5 separate regions of the Homo sapiens genome follow, and all the other regions are linked to region 4. The links are contacts of gene promoters, found by promoter capture Hi-C in human tissues and cell types (Jung and others, 2019). All regions are on one chromosome and are shown on one strand. Each heading gives the region's core, a stretch centred on a gene start or on the middle of the fragment in contact. The rest is flanking DNA. Distances are from core to core; before and after follow the strand shown.

The links. The method cuts DNA at HindIII sites, captures the fragments that hold promoters and counts their contacts. A contact is called where the count stands out against the background at its distance.
Region 1: a contact is called between the fragment with the promoter of ZNF671 here and a fragment that was not itself captured in region 4, in 1 of the 25 tissues and cell types used here (dorsolateral prefrontal cortex).
Region 2: a contact is called between the fragment with the promoter of ZNF274 here and a fragment that was not itself captured in region 4, in 1 of the 25 tissues and cell types used here (dorsolateral prefrontal cortex).
Region 3: a contact is called between the fragment with the promoter of ZNF8 here and a fragment that was not itself captured in region 4, in 1 of the 25 tissues and cell types used here (dorsolateral prefrontal cortex).
Region 5: a contact is called between the fragment with the promoter of ZNF418 here and a fragment that was not itself captured in region 4, in 3 of the 25 tissues and cell types used here (dorsolateral prefrontal cortex, hippocampus and lymphoblastoid cells).

What each region holds. Positions count from the first base shown.
Region 1 is chr19:57,726,262-57,731,034 of GRCh38, forward strand. It overlaps ZNF671 (zinc finger protein 671), which reads right to left and starts at 1,363. Exons shown (of 4, transcript NM_024833.3): 1 at 1,130-1,363. The coding sequence starts at 1,267. RefSeq lists enhancers at 1,062-1,562, 1,080-1,519, 1,660-1,709 and a silencer at 1,516-1,741. The HindIII fragment of the contact is 7,784 bases long and covers 1-2,511 here.
Region 2 is chr19:58,180,940-58,185,593 of GRCh38, forward strand. It overlaps ZNF274 (zinc finger protein 274), which reads left to right and starts at 2,122. Exons shown (of 8, transcript NM_133502.3): 1 at 2,122-2,503; 2 at 2,982-3,059. The coding sequence starts at 3,027. RefSeq lists enhancers at 1,733-2,446, 2,115-2,534, 2,447-3,158, 2,785-2,974. The HindIII fragment of the contact is 17,090 bases long and covers 1-4,654 here.
Region 3 is chr19:58,277,108-58,281,714 of GRCh38, forward strand. It overlaps ZNF8 (zinc finger protein 8), which reads left to right and starts at 1,848. Exons shown (of 4, transcript NM_021089.3): 1 at 1,848-2,040. The coding sequence starts at 1,975. It overlaps ZNF8-DT (ZNF8 divergent transcript), which reads right to left and starts at 1,635. Exons shown (of 3, transcript NR_187495.1): 1 at 1,416-1,635. ZNF8-ERVK3-1 (ZNF8-ERVK3-1 readthrough (NMD candidate)) reads left to right here and starts at 1,859. Exons shown (of 7, transcript NR_144447.1): 1 at 1,859-3,502. It also overlaps a transcript of ZNF544 not described here. RefSeq lists enhancers at 1,924-1,973, 2,394-2,443. The HindIII fragment of the contact is 27,521 bases long and covers 1-4,607 here.
Region 4 is chr19:56,525,688-56,530,407 of GRCh38, forward strand. It overlaps ZNF471 (zinc finger protein 471), which reads left to right. Exons shown (of 5, transcript NM_020813.4): 5 at 1-4,525. The coding sequence ends at 261. Among named protein-coding and RNA genes, the nearest start is that of ZFP28-DT, 11 kb to the right of the region's middle. RefSeq lists an enhancer at 1-1,160. The HindIII fragment of the contact is 5,520 bases long and covers 1-4,720 here.
Region 5 is chr19:57,932,674-57,937,124 of GRCh38, forward strand. ZNF418 (zinc finger protein 418) reads right to left here and starts at 2,729. Exons shown (of 6, transcript NM_133460.3): 1 at 2,488-2,729; 2 at 1,144-1,229. The coding sequence starts at 1,149. RefSeq lists enhancers at 2,132-3,014, 2,607-2,696. The HindIII fragment of the contact is 9,006 bases long and covers 1-4,451 here.

The DNA.
Region 1 (4,773 bases), core at 113-2,612, 1.2 Mb after region 4:
CAATAAGCCACTGCATCCCACCCTGGGCGACAGAGTGAGACTTCGTCTCAAAAAAAATAAAAAAAATAAATAAACTAAAACTAAAAGAAAACACACAAAATGAGGGTGAGATAATCAGATAGTAGCAATAGCACACCACCCATCGTTGCCATCCCAGGCCAAACTCCTCATACCCTACAGCTCTCTCCTCCTGCAAACACTGAAAAGAACCCTTTCAAATGGCAGGACCCTTCTCTTCTGGGGGGAGTCTCAAGAATGCCCACTCCCTCTTCCCTGCCCTGCAGTCCCAGCCTTCTCATCTCTTACCCCAGAGATATGAAATAACATACTTAAGACTGCCCCACTTAAATCTGACCTCCTGGCCTTGACCTACTCCAGACCGCTCCCTTCACCCCAAAGATATTCTAAGCCCAGCCCCTTCCCCACAACTTCAGACCTTCCTCTCTAGTTGCCTAAGTGAGGAAGCCTCCACTCTGAGACATCTCAAAGTCACCATTCCAAAATCCAAACGTTCATGGAAAAACAACAAAAACACCTTGCTCTTTCATGCCTTACTTTCAGTCATAGCTGCATATGATGGAGCAGAAAATCCTGTTGGTTTCAAATTTAAAACCTACCCAGAATATGATCACTTCTACCCACTCACCTGCCATTACTCTTGGTACATCCACCACCAAAGCATTCCTGGAATCCACTGCAGTAGCCTCCTTACCGGTCTCCTCGTATCCATCCTCGCAGTCCCCACCCCAAACTAATGTTCTCCCCTGAGCAAATTTCGAGACACTTAAAATCCCAGCTAAGATCACGTCCTTCTATTCAAAACCCTCAGTTAATCTCAACGCCCTCAGAATGAAGCGACAACTTCTCAGCCTGCCATTCCAGTCACAGTTCCTCAAACTCTGCTCTGTGTTGATGAGAACCCTGTCTCCCAAATGTTTGGGGGTCAGCAGCACCCCCGAGCCTTTACCTGCGCCGTCCCCTCCGCCCGTAACTCTCCCACACCCACCCACACCGAGATAGGACCCCGCCCCAAGAGTGCGTCGCTGTCCTGGGACACAGGGGCTGCAGGCACTTTACGATTCGGAGTCGGAGAAAGGGTGACTGAGGGCCCGGAGGACGCAGCACCCACCCGCGCGGAGTCCGTTAGCTCCGCCATAGGACCGTGGGCGCGGACAGCTGCCGGGAGCGGCAGGCGTCTCGATCGGGGACGCAGGCACTTCCGTCCCTGCAGAGCATCAGACGCGTCTCGGGACACTGGGGACAACATCTCCTCCGCGCTTTCCCAACACCTCCACCTGCGGCCCACACAAGCGTTACAGAACCCCGGCCAGGGACAGCCTGACAGAAACAAAATGTCCGCTACAAGGAGGAGCCGGAAGTCCCGCCCACGCACCCCCCGCAGGCACTGAAACACCCCTCTCCTGGGCCCTCATTGGGTATGCAACGTATAGGTTTGTGGGTAGAGTGTGGTTCCCACTGAGCTATCCTTCAAGGCAGGGGATTCTCGGCCTGGGCTCTTGGGAAAACTCGAAGTAGGAGGGCCAAGTTGTTTGGGAAAAGTAACCCGAGTTTCAAAGGGCTGACAGGACTTCCGTCCTCTTTTTTTTTTTTTTTTTTTTTTTTGAGACAGAGTCTCGCTCTGTCTCCCAGGCTGCAGTGCAGTGGCGCGATCTCGGCTGACTGCAACCTCCGCCTCCCGGGTTCAAGCGATTCTCCTGCCTCAGCCTCCCAAGTAATTGGGACTACAGGGGCCCGCCACCACGCCAGGCTAATTTTAGTACTTTTAGCAGAGTACGGGATTTCACCATGTTGGCCAGGCTGGTCTCGAACTCCTGACTTTGTGATTTGCCTGCTTCGGCCTCCCAAAGTGCTGGGATTACAGGAGTGAGCCATGGTGCCCGGCTGACTTCTGTCCTCTTAAAAGGCCTGGACCTAGATTCCCTGGAGTGTAGTATGCACCGATCGCAGAAATGTTGAGACATTTCAGATGTTCCCCAAAGCTGCAAAACTAAATAGATACACCACACCACAATGTCTCTTTGCGTACACTCACAGCTAGAAGCTAATAACTATTACCTTGTTGCTTTTTAAATATGTGTGCACTCAAGCTTTACAGTAACTTTTGTGAGCTTCAGTTTGGTCAGAGACGGAAGAGAAAATATTCCAAACAAGGCCTTGGAGTGGAAGAAGGAAGAGGGATGATGTGGAGTCTCCCTGAAACCAGTGGACAGATTTCTTCAGAAAACTCTTCCTGCCTGGGTAATCAGTGATGTCTCCATCACAGCAAAACACAGTGCAATTACCATTTAACCTGTCATTGTCATTGTAAGTATGGTGTCTGTGTTAGGAGGTGAGATTATCCCCGGGGGAAAAATCCTGACAGCTATTAATAATGATTCCGTAGTTATTTGAAGATAATGAAAGAAATTGCTCTAAGGAAATATCTGTGATAGATGGACAAAGTTAAGATCTCAGTAAAGTTTGAGCCTGAATACTAAAGTATAAGTGAAAGAATGAAGTTAAGCATATGGTTGTGTTGTGATCTTGACCACACTTTGTCAACAAAATGTGACTCTTTTTTCCTGAAAATGCTGAGCAATTGTAAAGAAGATATCAGAATGGTAAAAATCAACAGTGAAGTTGTGCTGTCTTGATAATTCACTGTTAAAATACACATCCAAGGAACACATACGAGCTCTCAGTAGGTGTTTTTCAAATGTGTTAGTAGCATGAAAGACATCACTAATAAAATTTCCAAGATTCCTATACATACAGGACATGTCCTGCATATAATGATTTTTGTCCTGCATCACCTTTTGACTTTGTCACAATACCCTAAATAAATATTCTAAAGAAGGCAACAGTCTTAAAGAAAAGAATTTTCAACCCGGAATTTCATATCCAGCCAAACTAAGCTTCATAAGTGAAGGAGAAATAAAATACTTTACAGACAAGCAAATGCTGAGAGATTTTGTCACCACCAGGCCTGCCCTAAAAGAGCTCCTGAAGGAAGCACTAAACATGGAAAGGAACAACTGGTACCAGCCACTGCAAAAACATGCCAAATTGTAAAGACCATCAAGGCTAGGAAGAAACTGCATCAACTAATGAGCAAAATAACCAGCTAACATCATAATGACAGGATCAAATTCACACATAACAATACTAACCTTAAATGTAAATGGGCTCAATGCTCCAATTAAAAGGCACAGACTGGCAAATTGGATAAACAGTCAAGACCCATCTGTGTGCTGTATTCAGGAAACCCATCTCACATGCAGAGACACACATAGGCTCAAAATAAAGGGATGGAGGAAGATCTACCAAGCAAATGGAAAACAAAAAAAGGCAGGGGTTGCAATACTACTCTCGGATAAAACAGACTTTAAACCAACAAAGATCAAAAGAGACAAAGAAGGCCATTACATAATGGTAAAGGGATCAATTCAACAAGAAGAACTAACTATCCTAAATATATATGCACCCAATACGGGAGCACCCAGATTCATAAAGCGAGTCCTTAGTGACCTACAAAGAGACTTAAACTCCCACACAATAATAATGGGAGACTTTAACACCCCACTGTCAACATTAGACGGATCAACAAGACAGAAAGTTAACAAGGATATCGAGGAATTGAACTCAGCTCTGCACCAAGCGGACCTAATAGACATCTACAGAACTCTCCACCCCAAATCAACAGAATATACATTTTTTTTCAGCACCACACTACACCTATTCCAAAATTGACCACATAGTTGGAAGTAAAGCACTCCTCCGCAAATGTAAAAGAACAGAAATTATAACAAACTGTCTCTCAGACCACAGTGCAATCAAACTAGAACTCAGGATTAAGAAACTCATTCAAAACCACTTAACTACATGGAAACTGAACAACCTGCTCCTGAATGACTACTAGGTACATAACGAAATGAAGGCAGAAATAAAGATGTTCTTTGAAACCAACGATAACAAAGACACAACATACCACAATCCTGGGACACGTCCAAAGCAGTGTGTAGAGGGAAATTTATAGCACTAAATGCCCACCAGAGAAAGCAGGAAAGATCTAAAATTGACACCCTAACATCCAATTAAAAGAACTAGAGAAGCAAGAGCAAACACATTCAAAAGCTAGCAGAAGGCAAGAAATAACTAAGATCAGAGCAGAACTGAAGGAAATAGAGACACAAAAAACCCTTCAAAAAATCAATGAATCCAGGAGCTGGTTTTTTGAAAAGATCAACAAAATTGATAGACCACTAGCACGACTAATAAAGAAGAAAAGAGAGAAGAATCAAATAGATGCAATAAAAAAAGACAAAGGGGATAACAGCACCCATCCCACAGAAATACAAACTACCATCAGAGAATACTATAAACACCTCTACGCAAATAAACTAGAAAATCTAGAAGAAATGGACAAATTCCTCGACACATACACTCTCCCAAGACTAAACCAGGAAGAAGTTGAATCTCTGAATAGACCAGGCTCTGAAATTGAGGCAATAATTAATAGCTTACCAACCAAAAAAAGTCCAGGACCAGATGGATTCACAGCCGAATTCTACCAGAGGTACAAGGAGGAGCTGGTGCCATTCCTTCTGAAACTATTCCAATCAATAGAAAAAGAGGGAATCCTCCCTAACTCATTTTATGAGGCCAGCATCATCCTGATACCAAAGCCTGGCAGAGATGCAACAAAAAAAGAGAATTTTAGACCAATATCCTTGATTAACATTGATGCAAAAATCCTCAATAAAATACTGGCAA
Region 2 (4,654 bases), core at 872-3,371, 1.7 Mb after region 4:
GGTGTGGTGATGCACACCAGTAGTCAGTCCTAGCTACTTGGAAAGCTGAGATGGGAGGAACACTTGAGCCCAGGAGGTTGGGCCAGCAGTAAGCCATGACTGCAGCACTGCTCTCCAGCCTGGGCAACAGAACAAGACCCTGTCTCAAAAACAAATTCTTTTAATCAAAAATCAGGTTTTATCCTATACCACATAAATAGAAAGAAATCATTAGAAGAATTTCCACCTGCCTGGGCAACATAGTGAGGTTTCTGTCTCTACAAAAAAGTACAAAAGAGGCCAGGCGGGGTGGCTCATGCCTATAATCTCAGCACTTTGGGAGGCTGAGGTGGGCAGACTGCCTGAGGTCAGGAGTTCGAGACCAGGCTGGCTAACATGGAGAAACCCCGTCTCTACTACAAATACAAAAATTAGCCAGGCATGGTGGCACACACCTGTAGTCCAAGCTACTTGGGCAGCTGAGGCAGGAAAATCGCTTGAACCCAGGAAGCAGAGGTTGCAGTGAGCCGAGATTGTGCCACCTCACTCCAGCCTGGGCGACAGAGCAAGACTCTGTCTCCAAAAAAAAAAAAGCCAGGTGTGGTGGTGTGCACCTGTCCCAGCTATTTGAGAGGCTAAGGTGGGCGGATCACTTGGGCCCAGGAGGTGGAGGCTGCAGTAAGCTGTGATCGCACCAATGCATTCCAGTCGGGGTGACAGAGCAAGACCCTGTCTCAAGAAAAAAAAAAAGAAAGAAAAAAAAGAATTTCCAAGGGGGTTTGCTTCCTTGTGATTATGAAGGGCTAGACGTATCCTATTCAAATCCAGAACAAAACAAGACTATTAGTAAACATGACTACTTAACATAGCTCTGTCATACTAGCTAGGACTATACAATGTTAATTTTTTAAAGTTGAAATATGGAAAAAGAAGATATCAAATTACTTATTAATTGGGGATGGTGTTGTATCTATAATAGACACGAAAAATCCAATGAAATATTATTAGACTATAAGATATCTGCACAGTCTCTGAGTAAATACTCCTATGCCAAAATCAACACACTAACAGCAACAATTAAACAATGTGTAGCCTGAGGTTGGATCCTCCACAGTGACCAAAAAAACCAACAACCCGTGGAACAAGTTTAGCAGGCAGTGTACACGACCACCAGAGGGAGGCAGAGGGCTGCTGAGACCTGCCAGGAAATATCAAGAAAGAGGACACAGGGTCCTGAGCACTGAGAGAGATCATTAGGGCCCTCAGGTCCCAAGAAGACAAGACCATACTGGGACCTGGGACCTAAGGAAGATAAGAAAACACCAGATGTCGGTCCTTGAGGAAGCCAAGAGAATACCTCCTTGTCCTGAGCTCCCAAGGAAGATGAGAGCACCCTGGGCCCAAGGATGGGTGGCACACACCAGGTCCTGGACAGCTACAGACTTAGGTTTCCTCTCCCTAGACATGAGCACCTCAGCTTCCAGGAGCAAACTGGACCACAGGGGGACACTAGGCAGAGGATCCTGCTCCTCCTCCCCAATGCCTGGGGTACAGTTAGCCCTGATCATCTCTCCAGAACTAGGGTAGACGTTTGGCCTCATTCCCATCACACTTGTGGTCCACCTAGTCTTCCCTCCTTCCCCTTGCACACCCCTGACCTTCCTACTCCCTTCCTCTAATCCCCAGAACTAGGGTGGACGTTTGGCCACGTTCCCATCACACTTCCGGTCCTCCGAGTTTCCCTCCCCTCCCTGACCTTGAGTGGACACTTGGCCCTGTCCACCCTCACTTTCAGGCAGGACCCATCTCCCAGAAACATAAGTGCCGTCAGTCCCAACTCCTGCACACTTCCGGCTCTCCCAGTCCTCCCCTTCTTTCTCGACTTTGAAACTGGTGGAACTTCAGTACCTCTCCCCACTCCCCCCGCGACTTCCGTCTTCCAGTCCCCCTCCTTCCCCAAAAGTTGCGTGGACTCTAGCCCCGCCTCCTACATTCTCCCCGCCCTCCCTGTCCCCGCCCCTCCACCCAGATGGACGGCCAGTTAGGCCCGCCCCCTGCACTTCCGGCCCTACCCGCCCTTCCTCTTCCCAAGGGACGTCATAATTAATCCCGCCCCCACCGCCACCCAACCAAGCATCACCCATTCCAGCACTTCCGGCCTGACCCCTGTCCAGCGCCTTTCCTTTCTCCAGCTTCTGCTCTGCCCCAAGAGTGGTCGCCTTCGTGGCAGGGCACGACTCTCTCCCAGCTCGGGTCGCCGCCCACATTAGTGTGGGGCCCTGCGGCCTAGCGTCCCTCACCAGAGGCCTCCCCTTGCCTAGCTGGACCGCCGAGGGACATCGACGAGTATCCTCCTCCTGCTGTCCCCGGCTTCGCCTGCCGCCCCTAACCGGCCAGTCAAGATGGCCGCCGCTGGGTGAGGCAAGCTGGCGCGCCGCGGGGGCGTCTGGGAGTTGTAGTTCGGGACGGCGGGCTGACGCACTTCGCCGCCGGCCGACGGGCGCCATTGTGCGGCGCGCGCCGGGTGAGTGCCGCGCGAAACCTGCGTCCGTCGGGGGCTGCGCTGGGCGGGTCCAGAACCGTTAGTTGGGGGCGAGCGCGGCCTCTGCATTTTCCGCCGAGCTCGGGTACCCTGAGCCGGCCGTGCCTGCAGTCCTCCCGCCGCTCTGTGGGATGGGGTCGGTGACCCGGAACCCCGAGGGGAGACAGTGCTTTCGGGGCGCCGCGGTGGAGAGAACAGATCGCCTCCGGAAGCGTGGGGTCTGGGCCAGGGAGGCGATCCCCTCCGATGCGCGGGACAGAGGAGGCTCGGTGTCCTCTCGGGGAGGGGAAAACTGGTCCTATCCAGTCCTGTGGGAGTCCTATGACTCACTCTGGGCGTTTTCCAGTTTGGGTGGACTTGTCATTTCCCGCTGAGGGAGCCGTTCCTGGGCGGAGGCTGCGGTAGCTCCCCAGCGGACACCTTAAGCCTCTCCCTCCCCTCCCAACTTCGGTTTCCTCAGGACTCTGCCCACTTCCACCAGAGACACATTGAGAAGGAGGAAACTATGGCCTCCAGGCTTCCGACGGCCTGGTCCTGTGTGAGTAGAGGCTTCCTTCAGCTTTTGAGTCCGCTACTGCACCTGGGAGGATGCGGATGGTGGTGAGATACCACCTTCCCTGAGATACCCCCATCCTCCAGAGCACCTCGGGGAGGGGGTAGAGATTGGTTGGGCATGAGAGATCCTGCGTGATGGTGGAACCGCAGGTTGCTTGGTTTTCCAAGGGTGTAGTTAGAATAGAGACCAGATTGTAGGGGCTTCTGAAGGCCAGGTTAAGGCTCTTGCTTGTATCCTTTATATTGGGAAGAGTAATTGACAGGTCTTTTGTTTGTTTGTTTTTTGTTTTTTGAGATGGAGTCTCCCTCTGTCGCCCAGGCTGGAGTGCAGTGGCGCGATCTTGGCTCACTGCAACCTCCGCCTCCTGGGTTCAAGTGATTCTCCTGCCTCAGCCTCCCCGAGTAGCTGGGACTACAGGCGTGTGCCACCATACCCAGCTAATTTTTTTTTTATTTTTATTTTTTGTGTGTGTTTTTTGTGGAGACGGGGTTTCACCATGTTGGCCAGGCTGGTCTGGAACTCTTGACCTAAGGTGATCCGACCATCTCGGCCTCCCAAAGGTCTATGCAGGGATCAGGCTTATGTTTAGATTTCAGCAGATAAATTGGCATCAAGCAAGAGGTGACAGCAGCAGAGTTCAATAACAAGTAGAAAAGACAGGTGAGGATGGATCCCTGACAGGTGAAGGAGATAGAAAGAAGCATCAGGGCCCTGGGTAGGGGCTGACGGCTTGGGTGTGATGGTGCAGCTCAGAGAATTCCCTAGGAGGCATACGCACCACTCCCAAAGTCAGAATTTTCAAATGAATAAGAAATAGGGGGCCGGGCGCGGTGGCTCACGTCTGTAATCCCAGCACTTTGGGAGGCCGAGGCAGGTGGATCACGAGGTCAGGAGATTGAGACCATCCTGGCTAACATAGTGAAACCCCGTCTCTACTTAAAAAAATACAAAAAATTAGCCGGGCGTGGTGGCGGGCGCCTGTAGTCCCAGCTACTCGGGAGGCTGAGGCAGGAGAATGGCGTGAACCGGGGAGGCGGAGCTTGCAGTGAGCCGAGATGGCGCCACTGCACTCCAGCCTGGGCGACAGAGAGAGACTCCGTCTCAAAAAAAAAAGAAAAGAAAAATAGGGCCGGGTGCGGTGGCTCACATGTGTAATCCCAGCACTTTGGGAGGCCGAGGCAGGCAGATCACAAGGTCAGGAGTTCGAGACCAGCTTGACCAACATGGTGAAACCCCATCTCTACTAAAAATACAAAAATTAGCCGGGCATGGTGGTATGCGCCTGTAATCCCAGCTACTCAGGAGGCTGAGGCAGGAGAATCGCTTGAACCTGGGAGGTGGAGGCTGCAGTGAGCCAAGATTGCGCCACTGCACTCCACTAGGAGACAGAGTGAGACTCTGTCTCAAAACAATAAATAAATAAATTAAATAAATAAATAAATAAATAAAATGGACAGATTTTCATATGCTACAGAGATCTCATGTGTTGCTCTCCTTATTGTAACCTGAATAGAGTCAAGCTTGGGTTTGCTTGGGGTTTCAGACAAAGACAGGAACTCAGGATGAGACTCCCAAAA
Region 3 (4,607 bases), core at 598-3,097, 1.8 Mb after region 4:
TAGAGCAGGAGCTCAGTCCAAAACCATGTCCTCTCATAATTTTGTGTAACTTGCCTAACACCTGCTCCTTCTCAGGAACGAGGCCCAGCAAAAAGCAGAGACGGTACAGGGCCAGAAGGATCTGAGAGAGTGTGGCCAGCTTGAGCCCTCAGGAGTCGGCCAGAAGGATCTGAGAGAGTGTGGCCAGCTTGAGCCCCTCGGGAGTCAGCTCCTCCGTCCCCACTGGTAACGTCTTCACCCCTTCAACACGGTGTGAAGGGCCATGTCATGGTTGATCTTCAGTCCCTCAGACTACACCATCAGCCCCATGGGGGTGAGCAAATAACAAGTAACTATACTGTTCCCTGCTATGTGTCTGGCTCTTGGTAAAATTTAAAAAAGTTAAAAATTGTTGTGGTTTGAATGCAACATTTTTGAATGGAAATCTGCTTCCCCATTTTTCTTTTTTAATAACTTTTTATTTTTTTTTTGAGACGGAGTCTTGCTCTGTCACCCAGGCTGGAGTGCAGTGGCCTGACCTCGGCTCACGGCAACCTCCGCCTCCCAGGTTCAAGCGATTCTCCTGCCTCAGCCTCCCGAGAAGCTGGGACTACAGGTGCCCGCCACCACGCCGGGCTAATTTTTGTATTTTTAGTAGAGACGGGGTTTCACCATATTGGCCAGGTTGGTCTCGAGCTCCTGACATCGTGATCCACCCGCCTCGACTTCCCAAAGTGCTGGGATTATAGGCGTTAGCCACCGCGCCCGACCTTTAATAAACATTTTAATGGACTACAACAGACCCACAGAAAAAGACACATCACAAAGTGAACACCCACAGGGAGAAGCAATAGGGCTGTCAGAGGCATTCGACCCAGAGCGACTCCATTTTGAGTGAGGGCTAGGAAAATGAGGCTGGGCTGCATTCCCAGAAAAGTAGGTATTCCTAACCTCTAGATGTTTACGGTTAAGGGAACAAATTAATAATGGGTACTAAAACAGACCCAGACTTGGGAGTGTCCAGATATCCCGGTATCTAGAGAACAAAGGCATTCCTAATTTTGCTTTAAAAATAATATCGATTCTTGAAAAATACAGTAAGAAAATTAATCCTTTTTCACAAACCCTTGTAGCAGAGCACATCTCCCCAAAATCTATTTTTAGCCCAAATATACACAAGCATTGTACCTAGGGTGCATACGTTCCTCTTACTTTCAGGAACGTCCTACTGTCTATGGGGTAGCTGTTTCACAACTTTACTTTCTCAACAAACTTGCTTTTACTTTGCACTGCGGACTCGCCCTGAATTTTTTCTTGCGCGAGATCCAAGAACCCTCCCTTGGGGTCTGAATCGGACCCCTTTCCTGTAACACAACCACCGCTCCCAGCCTCCCCGCTTCCAGCCGCTAAGCCCAAAGTCTTTTATATGAACAAACCTCTAACTCGTCCTGTGACTTTGATGCGTGTGCGTTTTAGGCACCGGGGAGCAGAGGGTAAAGCGGCGCAGCTCCGGGCCTCCTCCCGCGCAAGTTCCCGAGAAGAGCAGGTCCGGCCCGCGCAGACGTGCACGGTCCCCAGCCATTAGGAGGAGCAGACGGTCCCCACCCCCACAATCAGTCATCTCTCGGGGTCCGCCCTTGCTTCCTGCCCACGAGTGAGGCCTCTGGTTGCCCGCAACCTAAGGGGCATCGCAGCCCCGAGCAACACCGCCCCCACCAGCCTTAGCTGAGTGCTCCCATTGGCCAGAGGCCAGCGGGTGGGGGCTCCCATTGGCCATCGGCCATAATGCTTCCATTGGTCGAAGGCCAGACCAGCGGAGACTCCCATTGGCCGAGGGCTGTGGTTCGCCGCACGGCCTACTGGGAGTTGTAGTCGCCGCGTCGCCGGTGCGGCCGCCATTGTCCGGCGTTCGGCGAGTCGGGTGGTCCCTTTGGCTGGAGTGCCTCTCTGGTCTGGGGATCACCTCAGGCGCTGTCCTTCACTGGGCGATCCAGCATGGACCCCGAGGACGAAGGGGTAGCGGGAGTGATGTCTGTGGGGCCGCCGGCGGCCCGGCTTCAGGTAACAATAACAACAATAACGACGGCGGCGGGCTCCGGGCAAGCGTCTCCCGCGCAGACTGACCCTTTCACCTCGCGGCGCGATGAGAGCGGCACCGCTGTTAATGCCCTTGACACGTGGGGAAACTCAGACGCGGGTCGGGGCGTGGTGACCGTCCTGGCTGGTCAGAGAGGGGGCCGGGATTCCAACCAGGCGCCTGGCCCCCGAATGCGCATGCTCCACGCGGCTCTGTCCTCCCCAGGGCTGGGGTCGGTCATTCCCGAGAGAATCGAGCAGGCCCATCTCCTGCGTTCTGCTCCGCCCCGCCGACACCCTTGCCCATTCCAGGAAGGTCTGTCCTCGTGTTGACTGATAACAGTAATTGTAGCGTTGGCCGGGTGCCCAGATGGCAAGAATCATCGAATAGAGATGCTTTAACGCGTGGAGTCAGCGGACACCCACCGGGACCCCAGCACCGCGGAGCCCCTGCCCTGGGGCTTGGGCACAACCTCTTGGGGGCAATGATGGGTCACCACGCACTGAGTGTGATGAGAGTGACCACCAGGGTCGTCCCCTGCGAGACTGTGGGAGAACTGCAGTGCAGGGCGGTCAGTGTTTGCAGGGCCATCTGGCCATCAGAGCTCCACTTTCTAGACAAAGTGGTTGCGGCCTGTGTTCTCCATAAAGCTGCCTCGCGTGGCAGGAAACAACAATAATTATCCTTCCTCAAGCTCTGCAACTTTGAAATTATACTTTTTTTTATTTTTTGTCGTTGGTTTGTTCATGGGGATTTGCATTATTTCAGATTTGGTACACAAAGTGAGACTTGATAATCTTAGGTTGCAGGTTTTCAGATGTGTGTTGCTCCAAATTTGCATGAAATGCTACCACGTTTTATTTTGTTCTTGCTGTGGATGGGGGACAAGGAATGAGTCGTAAGAAAGGCTTGAGAGAAAGTGTATTAGTTACCTGTTGCTGTGTAACTCAAAACTTCGTGACCTGGAACAACAATAAATATCTCACGAGTTCTGACAGGAGTAATGGAATGTCCTAGCTGGTGGTTCTGGTTCAGGCCCATGAAGTTACAGTGAAGATGTCAGCATAGCTGTTGTCACCTGAGACCTGAGTCTGGAGGATCCACCTCCAGGATGGCTCACTCACATGTCTGTTGATAGGAGACCTCAGTTGTTCTCCATGTAGGCCTCTCTTTGGAACTGCTAGGGATCCTTGCAACATGGCATCTGGCTTCCCACAGAACAAGTGATCCAGGAGAGGGCAAGGTAGAAACTGTAACACCTTCCATGACCTGGATTCAGAATTCACACTCTTGTCACTTCCACGGTGTCTTACTGGTTACAAAGTCAACCTTGTTGAGTGTTGGAGGGGACCACACCAGGGCTGGAGGTCATTGGCAGAGGTGGTGGGGGAGCATCTTGGAGACTGTCCATCACAGGAGACAAGGACCAGAATGGAGAGCTTCAAGGTCCAGTGTTTTATCTGGTTATCTGTGTCTGCTGTAACAATTCACTACAAATTTTGTGGCTTAAAACATTTGTTCTTAGGTTCTGGAGGTCAGAAGTCTGAAATCGGTTTTCTGGTCTGGAATCAAGGTATGAGCAGAGCTACCCTCCCTACCAAGGTTCTAGGGTAGAATGTTTCCTCGTCTTTTCCAGCTGTGAGAGGTACAGACCTTCTATTCCTTGCCTCATGGCCCTTTGCCTGTCTTCAAAGCCTGCATTGTAGCATGTTGCTTCAGTGATCATATTGCCTTATGTCTTCTATAGTCATAGCTCCCTTTGTCTACCTCTTATAAAGACACTTGTGATTGCATTTAGGGCCCACCTGGATAATCCAGGATAATTTTTCTGTTTGAAAATCCTAATCACATCTGCACAGTTCCTTTTACCATATATAGTAATATTCACAGGTTCTAGGAACTAGGACCTGGATATCCTTGGAGGCCATTATATATCTCAGTCTACCATAGCCAGGCTGAGAGGAGCCATCCAGTATTCAGTGATGAGAAGGAGCCATTCACGTGTTTTAAGCAGGACTGGCATAGGGTTGAAAAAATCCACTTATGCATTAGGGGCTGGTGGGAAGGGAGATACTGGCAGCTCAACTAAGGCAGTGGGAAAAAGAGAGGAGTGGTTAGGCCCAGTGACCAGGTGTTGGCTGATGCTGGGGTGAAAAGAATATGTAAAGGAGAAACATCAGAGCACAGCCCCACCCCTTCAGGCTCCAGAAGTGCAAGACAAGAGGGAAGGCTGCAGGGATCTGATGTAGGGCAGAAAGAACATCATGAGACAACAAGGAGTGGGCTTCTGCTAGAATTCCAAGAAGGAAGCCAAGAGGAGGCATGAAGGACTTGTATGATGCCACTGAGAATTCTCATGGCTTGGACAGACCAGTACTCAGTGGACGTGGTGTCTAGGCTGTCACCAGTGACTCTTGCAGAATGGGTGATGATGGGAGGTGGGGGCAGGAGGCACGGGAAGCACAAATCAAAATTGGTGGGCATTCTGAGTGGAGGAAAGCGAAGACACAGAGACAGGAGCAGAGACCTCAGTTCCCAACCAAAGGCATCT
Region 4 (4,720 bases), core at 938-3,437:
AAACCTTATGAGTGTAATGAATGCGGGAAAGCCTTCAGCCAAACTTCCAATCTTACTCAACATCAAAGAATTCATACTGGAGAGAAACCCTATAAATGTACTGAATGTGGAAAGGCTTTTAGTGATAGCTCATCCTGTGCTCAGCATCAAAGACTCCACACTGGCCAAAGGCCCTATCAGTGTTTTGAATGTGGGAAGGCGTTCAGAAGAAAGTTATCCTTAATTTGTCATCAAAGAAGTCATACTGGAGAAGAACCTTAAGAATGTAGTGCATGTGGCCAAGCCTTTAGTTATCACCAATCCCCTACTGTTAATCAGAGATGTCCCACTGGATAAAAAACATATAAATGTAAGAAATGTAGAAAAACCTTCAGCCAGGAGGCTGGCAAGATGGCCGAATAGGAACAGCTCTGATCTGCAGTTCCCAGTGAGATCAACGCAGAAGGTGGGTGCTTTCTGTATTTCCAGCTGAGGTACCTGGCTCATCTCATTGGGACTGGTTAGACAGTGGGTGCAGCCCACGGAGGGTGAGCTGAAGCAGGGTGGGGCGTAACCTCACCTGGGAAGTGCAAGGAGTCGGGGATCTCCCTCCCCTAGCCAAGGGAAGCCATGAGGGACTGTGCCATGAGGAATGGTGCACTCCGGCACAGATACTACGCTTTTCCCATGGTCTTCGCAACCCACAGACCAGGAGATCCCCCTTGGGTGCCTATGCCACCAAGGCCCTGGGTTTCAAGCACAAAACTGGGCGGCCATTCGGGCAGACACCGAGCTAGCTGTAGGAGTTTTTTTGATAGCCCAGTGGCACCTGGAATGCCAGTGAAACAGAACCGCTTACTCCCTTGTTAAGGGGGCTGAAGCCGGGGAGCCAAGTGGTTCCCATGCCCACTGAGCCCAGCAAGCTAAGATCCACTGGCTTGGAATTCTCCCTGCCAGCACAGCAGTCTGAAGTCAACCTGGGATGATCAAGCTTGGTGGGGGGAGGGGCGCCAACCATTACCAAAGCTTGAATAGGTGGTTTTCCCCTCACAGCGTAAACAAAGCCATGGGGAAGTTCCAGCTGAGCAGAGCCCTCCACAGCTCAGCAAAGCCTCTGTAGCCAGACTGCCTCTCTAGATTCCTCCTCTCTGGGCAGCGCATCTTTGAAAAAAGTGCAGATAAAACCCTCATCTCCCTGGGACAAAGCACGTGGGGGAAAGGGGTGGCTGTGGGCACAGCTTCAGCAGACTTAAACATTCCTGCCTGCCAGCTCTGAAGAGAGCAGCAGTTCTTCCAGCACAGCGCTTGAGCTCTGCTAAGGGACAGACTGCCTCCTCAAGTGGGTCCCTGACCCCCATGCCTCCTGACGGGGAGACACCTCCCAGCAGGGGTCCACAGACACCTCATACAGGAGAGCTCTGGCTGGCATCTGGTGGGTGCCCCTCTGGGACAAAGCTTCCAGAGGAAGGAACAGGCAGCAATCTTTGCTGTTCTGCAGCCTCCACCGGTGATACCCAGGCAGATATGGTCTGGAGTGGACCTCCAGCAAACTCCAGCAGACCTGCAGCCGAGGGGCCTCACTGTTAGAAGGAAAACTAACAGGAATATAATCAACATCAACAAAGGACATCCACACAGAAACCCCATCTGAAGGTTACCAGCATCAAAGACCAAAGGTAGATAAATTCACGAAGATGAGGAGAAACCAGTGCAAAAAGCCTGAAAATTCCAAAAACCAGAATGCCTCTTCTCCTCCAAAGGATCACAACTCCTTGCCGGCAAGGGAACAAAACTGGATAGAGAATGAGTTTGACAAATTGACAGAAGTAGGCTTCAGAAGGTGGGAAATAACAAACTCCTCTGAGCTAAAGGAGCATGTTCTAACCCAATGCAAGGAAGCTAAGAACCTTGAAAAAAGGTTAGAGGAATTGCTAACTAGAATAACCAGTTTAGAGAAGAACATAAATGACCTGATGGAGCTGAAAAACACAGCATGAGAACTTCGTGAAGCATACAGAAGAAAAACCTTCAGCCAGATTGAATGCTTTACAGGGAAGAATTCATACTGCAGAGCGGTCTTAACAATGTAAAGAATGTGCAAATGTCCTCAGACAAGATGCACACCTTGCTCATTAGTGAGTTCATTTCAGGCAGCCAGCTCTTCCTCACCCACTACATCACCAAGTCCTGTGGATATATCTGCTAAATATTTTTGGAATTTATCCACTTCTTTTGGTTCCCCAGTCCAAAACACAGTCATTTCACCTGGACTATTTCAATCATTACACAGGTGTCCAACCTTTTGTCTTCCCTGGGCCACATTGGAAGAAGAAAAATTGTCTTGTGCCACACATACAATACACTAACATTAACAATAGCTGATGAGCTAAGAAAAAAAAAAAGTCTGTGCATAGTTTTAGTGATACACCACCTCCGATAAGCAAAAAAGTCCTCACATTCAATGGGTTGCATACCCATGAATTCTAAAACTTCATCCTCTTTTGTCCCTTTCGAGTTAACATTACAGCCACAGTGACCTTTCAAAAATGCAAATTAAGTTACTCTTAAAACTCTAGTTAAAATACTTGATGTACATAAAGTGCTTAGCAAAATGACCAACTCATACTAAGTGCTTAGTAAATGTTAGATAAGTATTCTCCAGAATTGATGTAAATTATTTTTAAACAGTGCATTCTTGAAAGCAGTATGGCAGTCATAAAAATTTTGGAACCAAAACAGTATCTTTTTTTAAGCTAAAAAAAAAGTTTTAAATGGTGTCTTTCTATGTTGCCCAGGGTGGTCTCAAACTCCTGTGCTCAAGTGACCCTCCCACCTCATTCTCAAGTGGCTGCAATTACAGGCAACCAGCCTGACTTAAAACAGTATCTTAAGGTAGATGGTGATTAGCACATGTAGTATGCTTAACATTTAATATTATAATAAGACATCACAGCGGCTGTCTCATGATTAAGGCTGTGTTCCCTTGTTGGTGAGGAAATTAATTATGACTTGATAAATAGAACATGTTTTAAGAAGTGGCTATATAGCTCTGGATAAAACGAACAAAAGAATTAGAATTCCTGCGGGGAATATATACAAGACTTTATTTAGTCAAGTAAAAAAAAATCACTAATGTTTAACTGAAGAAAGAGAAATTGAATAATATAGTTCTATTTCAACATGTGGGTTCACAGATTTATTCTAACCTTCCAAGTAAAGTTGTTCCACTAGTAAAGTTGTTCTGGAGTATATTTTTTTTAAAAAAAACACTTAAAATGTTCCACTTCTTTCATGAGGCTAAGTCAACTCTGATATCAAACCAAGGGGAAAGAAATGAAATTATAGGTGAGTTTACTTAGTTATATACAAAAGGAAATTATTAGCCTCTGCTGATGGAGAACAGAGGCTGTGAATAAATGGAGATCCATAACATGATCCTACATGAATGTTTCAATATTGTAATCCTGTAAGTTACTTTTACATTGACAGTTCTGAAATTCATGTTGAGTGTTAATTAGGCAGGAATCAGAAGGGAGGTTTTGTAGAAGGTCGTATCCATGGGTTTTTTATATTTGAAAAGTGTTTTCGATGTATCATTGGGGGAGATTAAATGTCTTTGACAGTTGTCCAACTAGAAATAAAGTCAGCATCCCATTTGACTCCTTACACAGAAGTTCATTCTATACTCATTACAGATGTAAGAGGTTAAGATGGTAGAGGAGAATGTAGAGTATTTCTGTGCCTTTAGGTTCAGGAGGTCTTTGATAAGCAGGACAAGGTCCAGAAGCCATGAAGAGAGAATGACAGGACTGTGTAGAAGATTTAAACCTTTTTCATGGCGTAAGATACTGTATGCAAAGTTAAAAGGCATATGACAGGCTGAGAGATATCTTAAACATACATTAGAAAGGATATAGCCCTTGAAAAAGGGCTGTTGGAAAGCAGCAAGGATAAGGTGCACAGTCTTGCAGAGCATGTCAACAAAATTTATTGGATGAAGAAATTAAAATGGTTAAATAGAAGAAGTTCTCAACCTCACTAATGATCAGATAAGTGCAGATTGTAAAAGTCCTCATCCCCACCAACACAAACCAGCAGAAATTTTATGTGAATGTGAAGTTTGGATAATATCCAGTATTGTCGCAGGTGTGAGAAACCGTATTTTCAAATATTGAGAGGGTAAATTAGAGGAAAGCCATTTTAGAGGGCAATGTGGTGTTACCTGTCAGCATTTTGAATATAATTACCCTTTGCCACAATTCTACACCTAGTCAGTTATGTTCTCAAAAAGCACAAGTGCAGAAATATAGATGCATAAGCAAATGTGTTGCAGAATTGTGAAAAATTTGGAAAAAATGTTTAGTGCTATTAAAGTTATGGGTTACTTAAGTTACAGAAAATCAGTTTAGTAGATCACTGTGTAGTTACGGAAAATGAGATGGATCTCTACTCAAAGATGTCTTGCAGTTTATGAACTGAGATGTAACTTCATGACTAACATGATGACATCGTTATTAACTACATAAACTTTATAAAGCTTAAAAAATGCATTCATAGTATCTTATTTGTTGTTTTTGTTTACAATACAAATAGAAACCATGCACACAGATACAAGAACTCCTTCCCTGTTGTTTGTTTTTGTTTTGTTTTGTTTTTGGTAGCGGGCGGGGTGAGCTGCTCTCATGTTATTCCATGAGTTTTTTTATGTGTTGCTTGTTGTGCATGGTTCATTTTTTGTTTT
Region 5 (4,451 bases), core at 1,479-3,978, 1.4 Mb after region 4:
AAATAAATAAAATCCCAGCCCATCAGCTGTCCACCCCAGGCCCAATGTCTGTCACAGATAACCAAATTTACCCTGAGCATGTATCCACCAGGCCGAATGAAAACCCCCAAGCACCAACAAAGTTTTCTCAAAATCTTGGTGAGTCCACAGAGTGGTGAATAAGTACCAGCCTTGGCCCAAGTGTCATCTTCCTTCAATTATTTCTATGCTTCTGCTTACATCTCTTATCTATTCTACCCTTGGAAAGCCTATGCCCCCTGACAAACCATGTTGTCTGACATACCCTATCTTCATGAGCCCTTGCCTCCTTCTCCTGTGGCAATGTCAGCCAGGGACCCAAGCAAGAAATTCAGCCCTCAGCCTGCAACCACCCCTTCCTGGCCCCCACAAAAGATTTACCATGAAAATTTGAAGTGTGTCAATGTCATAATGGAGGCTAAACTATCTCAGACTCTTAACATGGTCAAAACAACATTCTTCACATCCCCAATGAATATTATACCTACTATGTGCTCATCTCAGTTGATGCAGCTTCCATCACTGCAGATGCTAAGACCAAAAACCTGGTGGTCATACCTGATTCCCCTTTCATGCCCTCACAGTCTATTAGAAAATCTAGTTACCGACCGGGCTTGGTGGCTCACGCCTGTAATCCCAGCACTTTGGGAGGCCGAGACGGGTAGATCACGAGGTCAGGAGATCAAGACCATCTGGCTAACACGGTGAAACCCCATCTCTACTAAAAATATTAAAAATTAGCCGGGCATGGCCGGGCTTGGTGGCTCATGCCTGTAATCCCAGCACTTTGGGAGGCCGAGGCCGATGGATCACGAGGTCAGGAGATTGAGACTATCCTGGCTAACACAGTGAAACCGTCTCTACTAAAAAATCCAAAAAATTAGCTGAGCATGGTGACGGGCGCCTGTAGTCCCAGCTACTCGGGAGGTTGAGGCAGGAGAATGGCGTGAACCCGGGAGGCAGAGCTTGCAATGAGCCAAGATCGTGCCACTGCACTCCAGCCTGGGCGATAGAGCGAGACTCCCGCTCAAAAAAAAAAGGAAAATCTAGTTGCCATTTTACAAACTGTGAATCTTGAATCCAGCCACAGCTCCTTACTCATTAATATGGTCCAGTAACCCTCACCTGCATTATGGCAGGAGTTTAAACTCTGATCCTCCTTCCTCCTCCCTCAAACACAGTGTGTTCTCTTCTTTGCAGCCAGATGATGCCTGCAGACAAATGGGACTGTGGTAACATCACCTCCTCGCCGCCCTCTTGCCTCCCCACCGAATTTTTACCTCTAAGCATTTCATGACCTGGTACCAACTCTGTAGTTAACCTTCAAAGTATGTTTACATGGGTTGACAGAAATGGGAATACCTCCATACATCCTGTGTCATGGACTTAGGATTCTGGGTTTAGGGTTTCTCCAGTGTTCTCAGATCAAAGGACTGAAAAAATGGCAAGTAAGAGTCCCAGGACATCACAAGCTAGAGAACATGTGAATGGGGAATAAGGCCAGTGAGGGAATGGAACACCCTCTAATTCCCTCTGTGGGTTCCTTTTTTTGAGCCAGAGTTTCGCTCTTGTTGCCCAGGCCGGAGTGCAATGGCTCACCGCAACCTCTGCCTCCCGAGTTCAAGCAATTCTCCTGCCTTAGCCTCTGAGTAGCTGGGATTACAGTCATGCGGCATCACCACGCCTGGCTAATTTTGTATTTTTGTTAGAGACGGGGTTTCTCCATGTTGGTCAGGCTGGTCTCGAACTCCCGACCTCAGGTGATCCGCCCGCCTCGGCCTCCCAAAGTGCTGGGATTACAGGTGGGAGCCACCTTGCCCGACCCCCTCAGTGGGTTCTTTACGTGCTTTTGTAGCCAGGAGTGTCTGAGGGGAAAGCAGACGTTACAAAGGGGATCTGATAAGCTCAGGTCTCCTTGAACCTTTTCTTATCGCTGGAGCCAGGTGACCTCAGACTGGTTGACCTGCGTGTCTCAGTGCAAAATGTCATCTCTACCACCTATGTGATCTATCAACAAAGGAGTCAACCTCCCAGAACCCTAAGGTCCTCATCTCCTCTACTATGTTCTTCCTTTGGCCTTTGGGAAACCTTAAAAGCCTGGACTTGGATCGCATCCCTCCTTTCTTCGAAACTCTCCATGGCTTCTAGCGTCTTCACAGCGAATACACAGCCCCCAGCCTGCTCTTCCAGGAGAAGCTTCGCCTCACACGTTGTTCCCTACAGGCGCCTGTGGACCCCAGGTTCCATCCTCCCGGGTCTGTCCTCCAGGCCATAGCCCGCGCCGGTCCCTGTGCCTGTCGCTCTCCCCACCGCATCCCACAGGTGTCAGAAACAAGGACCTCTCCCGCGAACGCCTCAGTGTCCCGACGCCGGGTCCGGGCTGCAGACCTGTGAACAGTCGCCGCTCTCTCGCTGCTTCAGGATTCGGGTTAGGATGAGGTGACCTGAGGGCAGGGAAGGCACAATTACCTGAGCCGGGAGCCTCAGCGCGGCCGCCGCCATCCCGAGTACGCGGGGAAAGCACTGCCGGGAGCGGCGGGCGCCGTTACGGGGCCTAAGATCTGCCTCTGTGCAGCAAGAAGGACTCTTCACCTTCTGGGTTCAGACACCGCGGTTCGGACCCATAGCTCCAGCGCCTCTCACCTCACAAACCGCAGAAACACACCCAACATTAACCAAAATGGTCGCTACCAGAGAACGCTGAGAATCCCGCCACTACGTTACGTGCGCACACAGAAACGCCTTTATTCTGAGCCCTTACTGGTTCTGTTGCGCTGTCATTCAATGTAGAGCTTTCTGGGTAATGTAGTTCCCCAGGTTCCAAGGTAGTAAAGCTGCCGCTTCCCAAAGGCGCTTCTGCAGGGAAGTCCCAGCCCTACCTCAGGGGGTTCATTAAAGCGCGTACCCTTTTAGGGCAGAGGATGGTCTCGCCCCTCCTTAGAGGCCATATTGAGATTCCTGGGGAATCCCTGTTTGTAACTGACCACCTAAGTGTTTGCAAAAATATTAATTCACATTTCTGTAAATTCAAGCTCCCAGGCGCTAAAAATACTGTGAAGGCCCCCAAAGGCTACAAATCCAAATTCGTGTATCACTTTATACAATCGTTTAGACACAGAATGCTTGCACTGGAAGCAGAGGCTGATAAACATTACTCTGTTATAATTCACATGAATGCACTCTTGTTACCGGATAGAATGTCTTGGCTGTGAGTTGTCCAGTTGTTGGCGCATTGAACAAAGAAGTGAACAAAACACACAAAAAAAGCAACGAAAGAACGGACCAATGAAAGCGCAGATTTATTGAGGGGAAAGTACACTCCACAGAAGTGGAATGTAGGTGTGGGAGCAGGCGACCAAGCGGCTCAAGAACCCCGATTACAATGTTTTTTAGGGTTTTATTAGGTTGGTGCAAAAGTAATTGCGGTTTTTGCCATGAATAAGCTAGAATTTTATAATACCCCAAGAGTTCTTTAAAGGCCTCCAATCCTATGAAGGACTGGTGCACAACCAATCAGAGGCTGAAGTGGAGACTTCTGTCTTGTTACCACAGGAGTGAGGACGTGGCCTGTGTGCTGCCTCATCTTGCCTAGAACTAGCTGCACCTGCTGTTCTTTTGCTTATGCCTTCATTCTTGGTTACCCTAATTCCCTATTCTCCTGCCTCACTCTGAGGCATTAGAGTTGGTTTTTCAGTCTGCCAGGGACAAAAGAGAACTAATCCAGATAGGACCATGCCAAGGAAGATAGAGGAGAGGCTAAAGAAAGAGTACAAAGGTCAATCAGTCGTTCCCATGGAAAAACAACTCTCCTGCTTATATAGTCAATTATTGTGTCCAATTCATTCAGCAAAACATTTATTCATGTAATATCCCTTACTTGGTATTCTAACTTATATTTTCAACTCATTTTAGGAACTTGAAGTCAGTCTCAGGTAAAGAACAATGAAAGAGAAATCTCAGCTTGGTATTGGTAATGGTGGTGATAATCTCCACCTGGAGACACTAGGCGTATGTTAAATTATCGAGCTTGTTATCTTTCCTGGGAAGTGATTATCATTTGTTTCTCTTGTGACAGCGGGGAGTGTTCTGCATGAGGAACTAATATGATACCAGAAAAACAGGTGAAATGCCAGTTACAGAAACTTATTACCAACGACTATCTAATAACTGCGATGACAGAAATAGGTCAATTGAAACATGAGTGGATGGTGAAAAAAATTTACACTTCACAGAAGTTTTTCTTTCTTTTTTTTTTTTTTTTTTTTTGAGACAAAGTCTCGTTCTGTCCCAGACTGGAGTGCAGTGGCGCCATCTTGGCTCACTGCAACCTCCACCTCCCGGGTTCAAGCGATTCTCCTGCCTCAGTCTCCCAAGTAGCTGGGATAACAGATGCCTGCCACCACGCCCAGCTAATTTTTGTATTTTTAGTAGAG